2 separate regions of the Homo sapiens genome follow, and region 1 is linked to region 2. Evidence: promoter capture Hi-C in human tissues and cell types (Jung and others, 2019). All regions are on one chromosome and are shown on one strand. Each heading gives the region's core, a stretch centred on a gene start or on the middle of the fragment in contact. The rest is flanking DNA. Distances are from core to core; before and after follow the strand shown.

Region 1 (3,638 bases), core at 575-3,074, 39 kb before region 2:
TCCTTTGCCTCCTGTGGATGATGGTTTGCAGGGAGGGAGGAATTTTAATAACACATGAAACTTTCAATTCCTGTGAATAAAACGGGGAAGGCTTGTCAACTCTGCTCAGGGCTGTCAGAGCCATGGGGCAGGGCAGACAAGCGAGATTCTGGTTTGAACTTTGTACCTTATTCCTGGATCAAAGCTTCATTTCTCTGGCTATACCTTTGGAGTTTAATTACCATAATACAAGGCCAGGGGAAAGGAAACTGTGCTGCCTACCTGTCATTCTCTACCTTAGGGCACTATACACAGTGCCTGGCACATGGTGGGTTCACAGAAATATTGACTGAATAAATAGAGGATGGATGGATGGGTGGATAAATGCATAGATGGGTGGATGAACTCAATGTACCTAAGCATTGTTTTATTTAATTCTCACAATCCTATAAGGCAAGTGCTATTGTAGCCACATTTCCTCCCTCCCTTCAAGCCATCATGCACATGAGGCAAAGGATAAGAGAAAAAAAGATGAGGCAGTGGAAACTAATATGTATGAGTTAATATGCATACCCAGTATTTTTACTTCAAAATCCATTTTTTTGTGAATGTGATGCTTACTGTACTGCCATTTCTCATACACGTCAGGATATCACCTCAGGAAACTGGAGTACGTAAACCCTAATGGAACAGGCTATGATCCTAGTAGTATTATAAGTTGTGAAGATAGAAGGTAAGGAAATGGTTTACCTCTCTGATCACCAAGGAGCCATGCAGAACTCCCAGCAATAGAAAGAGCTGAGCATCTTGGCCAGTCCTCCTGTGTCCTAGCTTTGATGTATGTGGTGTAACTAAGAACAGATTAAAGAAATATGGTACCTGTGTTGTGGATCATATGTTTAACATCTTTGGTTTGTTTTCCTTGCTCATGATGAAGTCTGTAATAGACTTAACCTCATTTAAATCACTGTGTTTGTGGACAGCACACAATCCTCCCTTACCATAGAAGTTACTCAGATATGTAGAACTCTAGTATCTTTAGCTGGAGAGGAAACCTGTGGGAGGGAAGGGCTGATGGGGAATTAGAAATAGAATTCCTGAGAAATTGGATAACTTAATCTGGAGAAAAAAACTGAAAATGCAAACAATGGCACATTGATTCTGTAGAATTAATTGTAAGAAAGATATCATCAAATTTTTTCTCCATTTTTCTGTCAGAATCAGAGTGTAAAAGTAAACTATAGTGGGAGGAATGCATGTAATTCCATACCTGTACCCCTTTGCCACCTGGAAAACTACTTTTGTGCCAAGTTCCCGAGTTACTAGAATGATTTAAATCAAGCTGGTCTCTCCAATCAATATTTTTTCTAAAGGAAGTGTGGGATATAGTGGAAGGAGCTCAGAAGTTCACCTGGATCTGACACAGAGAAGAGGAACACTAGCTAGCTGGCAGACTTTAGCAGGATCAGAGCCAATGTTCAAAAAAGAAGGAAATAGAACAGGGAAACAAAGCCCACTGAATTCTATTGAGCAGAATGACAATAATGGATGTCTTGTTATAGACAGAACCCGGCTAAGACCTCTAATTCCATTGCCTCATTTAGTCGTTACAAGAATAATTATTGGTAGGTACTATTTTTTATCTCCATCTTAACAATAGTAAAAGAAGTCTCAATCATGTTGAGCCTCATCTTTTTTCTTTCATTCTCAAGAATATAAAATAAAAAATAAATTTTAAAAAAAAGAAAGCTCCGAAAGGTTAAGCAACTTATTCAAGCTTATACAGTAGGTGGCAAAGCTGTAATCCAAACCCAGACCATTATGATTCCAATCTCTAATCTTGGTTACTAATATATAAACCCAAATAACTAACAAGTCAATCAACCTTATTTTTTCCTGATCTCCATTTATATTGGAAAGATAAAAGCAAACAATAAGATAACAGAGATCTAACTTTAAAACAAATTAAAACACGTCCACACTGCTCTCAGAGCAGTACAAAGTCAGCTGTATTATTACCTCTATTTCCCATTTATTCAGTCAGTCAATTGTTCCACAGAAATTTATTACAAATTTATGTTTAGGCTGAACAAAGATCTGAATAGGCAAGCTTATTATGTCTGTTATATCTGTTATATTATATGCAATATATGTACTGTATATGCCTATTGTACATTTATTATAAATGGGAAATTTATACAAAATATTTTAAACACAATGGTAAACAGCCAGAAATACATTTTGAGGAGAGGAGGAGTTCTGCTTTTCTCACAGGTTAAATCAATTAACCACTCTCTTAACATTACAGCTTTTTGAGGTTTTACTGTAGTGTTTTTTGTGTACTTATATCATTTGCTAATAACAACTAAGGAAATGTCCAGCTAGTTACCAGGGAAGCTCAACTACCTCTAAGCCTATCATTATTAGAATTCAATAATACGCAAATCAATATCAAGATTGAAAAAAGAAAGGAAGGCCCAAAGTGTTCCTTGAAAAGACAGCTTCTCATAGAATGACGGACAACCAGGTTTTATTTACTTCGTAGCTAATTTGAAAAATGCTTTTGAGGGTTGGAAGATGTTTGAGGAAATACAACTGGCTACTAGCCAACTACAATACTGCTTCCCAAAAGGGTCCACCCATCAGACTAGAATAACGGAGCTCCTTCTGAGGAGTCCAGGGAGGAATTACTGGAAATGGCAAAGTATATTAGACCTAATATTATCCCACAACATAACATGATGTATTAACACTCTGCCTGAATTCAAGATGTTTATTGATTTCTTAAATCTTAACTAGGTTACATTTGCATTATATAGTACAAAAGAACCATTTTAAGTTATTTCTGTTCACATCTCAGGCTGAGTATTTTGCCTAAAATATTTCTTCTCTGACTGAATTTATAGAGTGAACTGAGATGATACAAGTAACCAAAGTTAATCATAAAATATTTACGTGCATTAAATACTGCATTTATTCATAGTCAGAGGCCAAAATAATGTTTAAATGGGAGCATGTCTGATAGTAATATCAAATTGAGATAAATTTGTGAACGATAGTTTGATTGCATGGAATCTAATAACTAAGTTGAGGTCCAGTGTTATGTAAAAGAAACAAGAAAAACGTTCGGCCTAAATTTTTTTTAAAAAGTGAGATTGACAATTTAAATAAGTGTGTACTAATTTCCTGCAGCATAGCACTTGCTCAGAGGTCATGTATCCTGCAAGCCCAACTATCCGGAAAGACAGGACTAGGAAAGACCTCTGCACCATCAAATAAACATCAAAGTTTCATCAAGTTAGGCTGACCTGGGCTCATATTCAGGCACCACATTGGAGGTTTATTTCACATAAGTCACTTCACTACCTTGAGTATATTTTCAACTGTACCCTAATTTACAGGGCTGCTGTCAGAATTAGTGTTAATAGAAGTGCCTTCAAAGTGCTGACACATAATAGGCTCTCCACGGAAAGTAATTAGCATAGCGTTATGGGCTAAATTGTGTTTCCCCAAAATTCCTATGTTGAAGCCCTAATCTCCAGTACCTGAGAATGTAACTGTATTTGGACACTGGGCCTTTAAAAAGGTAATTAAGGTATTATAGGTTATATGGGTGGGATCTAATTAAGTATGACTCGTGCCATTATAAGAAGAGGAAA
Region 2 (3,322 bases), core at 36-2,535:
CGCGCCCGCGCCGCCCGCGCCGGCCATGAGCGCGAGCGACGGCGAGGAGATGTGGTCCAGCAGATCGCCGGGTTCGAGCGCCTGGTGGTGGTGGTGGTGGTGGTGGTGGTGCGCCAGAGGCACCGTGGAAGTGGACGTGCACGGCACGCTGTTCATCGTGTGGTACGTGGCGTCCGGCTTGAAAGGATGGCTCTTGCCCTGGGACACGGCGATGTCCACGGCCGCCAGCGCCTCGGCCCGCGCCAGCAGCGTCTCGTCCAGGCTGGCGAAGAGGTTGCTCTGCAGCTGCAGGCGACACAAACCAAACCAAAAAAACCACAAAACCAAAAGAGCAAAACAAAACAACAGAAGAAACACACACACAGGCCGGAAAGCACAGCATGCGAAGGGCAAACACAAAGCAACCAAAATAACAACGGGTTTGGGGGCAGTGGAGAGCGGGAAAGACGGAGAGGGGGCACATTGACGACCAGGGAGGGGGCAGACGAGAAGGGATGGGAGCGTGGAGAGGGGGACAGAAGTAGGGAGAAAGGGGGACACAAGAACACATTCCGGAAACGGGCGTGGGAGACGAAAAAGAGGGAAAAGAAGAAATGGAAATGTAACTCGCAGCTGGGGACCCGTGTCACACACCCGAGCACGCACAGAGACTGCCTTTCTGAGGCGTGAAATTAACAGAGAAAGTAGAGGGAAGTCGAGAGTCCTGGCCCCAGCGCTCCCTACTCCGATCGCAGGCGCCTGACGCGGAGGCAGAGGCAGACAGGAACACGACATTAAGGGCCGCCGGACAAAACGTGCCTCGCTGCGGGACTGCTCTACACCCCCTGCCCGCAGTTCCCCGCACCGGGACCTGCACACACCAGCCCCCGACATGCAGCGTTTCGGAGACGGGGAGGGGCGGGCGCGCGGGCCGGGGCCGCGGGCGTGGGGCGCTTACCGGCGGCGTGGGCAGGCAGGCCCGCCGGATGGCCTCGGAGCTGGAGTGCAGCGACGGGTACTTGTGCTCAGGGAGGGTGGGATGCATGGCAAAGTGAGGCTGCTTGCTGTTCATGGACATCATCGTGGCGGCTTGGCATGTATATCCACAAACACTCCGAAAGTCCGCGGGAAAGTGCGTACGCCGGCTCACCCGGCCTCCCTTCGGAGGCTGCAGCCGCGGCGGTCGCGGCGGCTGGCGGCGGCCCCGCCGCGGGCTGCTGCTGCTGCTCCTGCTGCTGCCAGGCGCTCCCTCTGACCGCGCAGAGCGCCGCGCGCCGGCCTCGCGGTCCCGCTTCTCCGACAGCTCTAGCCCCGCGCGCCGACGGGATGCACTCCTCTAACACCTGAGCCCCACTTCTCGCGGCCGTCCCGGGGAGCTCTCGCGAGAGCTCGCGGCCCCACCGCGCTGACAGGCATCAGCTGTCTCCGTCTGTCTGACGCGCGCTCTCCTTCTCGGCGGCCCCGTGCGTCTGCGCGCGCGCGCGCTCGTCCGGCCGCGACCAGCGCGTGGGAGCCGCTCTTATAGTGACCACCAGCAAGGACAGCGCAGGTGATGCACCTGTAGCTACCCGGGCATGCGCACTGCCCGCCTCACCTTTCCCACCGTGGTCTGGAAAGATCAGAAGGTCCAGCTATTGTCTAAGGGTGGGCACCTTTTAGAATAAAAAAGACGAGATGCGCGCACGCCCCTCTATGTGTGTGTGTGTGTGTGTGTGTGCGTGCGTGTGTGTGTATGTGTGTATGTTTCTTCTCCCTGATAGCAAGCCTTGAATATATGAGCATTACTTAGGCATTCCTCCTCTTCGGGATGCCTAACAAGCTGTTGTATAATGTATACAGCTGGACATTTCTACGTTAAATTATGCCCGCGCATTCCTCTGTATACAGTATAAATAACAACACAGAAATGCAGAAGGTGCTGTCTTTTGCTGCAAGAACCTGTTTCTTTAAAGGTTTATAAATAGGTTCCTGGAGAATAATCGCGGTGACAGACATTTGTTTGAAGCAGTCAGACGCTATTGATTTCCATATAATTTAATTTCCTCCGCATACTTTTTTGTTGTTGTTGTGAATATAACTGTGTCAGGCACCGCCAGTGACAGCCACTTAGGAGCCACAAGGAGCGTGTGCTTTCTACTCGGGAAAAGCTGTTGAAATGAAATTGTGCATTTCTCTTATTGTTTGTCTCCTTCAACCGTGTACAAACCCACGTTTCAAACGAGCTCCGGGTGATCTAAGGCTTCTAGTAATCAAAAGGAAAAAACAGTTAACAGGGTGTAGTTGGGATCCTTCCTCCCCTCAGCGTACACACACACACACACACACACACACACACACACACACTTTATGCTGGGAACTCCAGGAAAACTGCTTCAGAGAAAAGGGAATAAGATGTTGAAAAGAGAACTTTCTTTTCCCTTCCATCTTTTTGGCTTTTTGCCTCATATCTCTGCCTGCTTATATATATTTTTTTCAATAGGAGACAGATCAAACTAACTTACAGGAAAGCTTGATTCAAAAATATTAAATCAAGCCAATTTGAAAGAACGGGGACAAGCTCTGGTCCAGTTTTTAAATTTTTAAAAAATTATTGTGAAATTAAGACCTAAAAAGAATAAATCAATTAGCCAACCTGTTATATGGCCCTTATGTGGTAGCAGATCAAGAGCCTCCCAGGGGAGCCACAGTTCAGGTGCCAAAGTCCCCAGGGAAGGAGCACTTGCTCGCGGTGATAATAACCTAACAGCCCAGATGTTATCACATCTGCGGTAAGAGAGCTGGAGAGCAGCAAGGGGCTGCTTATGGAAAGCAGAAATCAGATAATCTTTCTGTTCTCTCCCACACCAAGGAAGTCTGTATTTCCACCAAAGAGCAGATCTCATTTCTATAAACCTAAATTTGCGTTCCCGTGGATTTTATCTTTCCTCTGCACAAATGCATGTGTGTTTAGCATACCCACTCACCTACTCAGATTCCAAGAAGAGCCCACAGGCGTCACCATGGCTTTTTCTTTCTTTCTTTTCATGTTCCCCCCCACCCCCTCCCTTCCTTCTAGCTCCAGAGGGAAGTGAGAAGGATGTTCACTTGCTGGTGAGAGAAGGAGCTGGTTCCATCCATTACGCAGTCCCCTGGGAGCGCTAAATGCAACTTTATCTCAACGGGGAGTGGACGATGAGCAGGACGTCGCTAGAGGGAAAGAGTGAGTCCTACGGTAGTCATCACACCGGGAGTCCGGGCTTAACCTAGTCCTTCCTGACACCCCTGGTGGCCGTTCCCTGCGCTCTCTCTTGACGGGAAAGAAAAGGCCCCCACAGAGGGTGAGGGCCTGGAACCTGCCCCTCCC

What was found. Contacts are between HindIII fragments. The study calls those that stand out against the background at their distance.
Region 1: a fragment that was not itself captured here is called in contact with the fragment with the promoter of POU4F1 in region 2 in 1 of the 25 tissues and cell types used here (aorta).

The regions. Positions count from the first base shown.
Region 1 is chr13:78,562,513-78,566,150 of GRCh38, forward strand. All of the region lies in intron 3 of OBI1-AS1 (OBI1 antisense RNA 1), which reads left to right. Among named protein-coding and RNA genes, the nearest start is that of POU4F1, 39 kb to the right of the region's middle. The HindIII fragment of the contact is 3,594 bases long and covers 28-3,621 here.
Region 2 is chr13:78,602,267-78,605,588 of GRCh38, forward strand. It overlaps POU4F1 (POU class 4 homeobox 1), which reads right to left and starts at 1,286. Exons shown (of 2, transcript NM_006237.4): 1 at 938-1,286; 2 at 1-285. The coding sequence starts at 1,060. OBI1-AS1 (OBI1 antisense RNA 1) reads left to right here. Exons shown (of 6, transcript NR_047001.1): 4 at 3,035-3,178. RefSeq lists a silencer at 1,077-1,236. The HindIII fragment of the contact is 11,230 bases long and covers 1-3,322 here.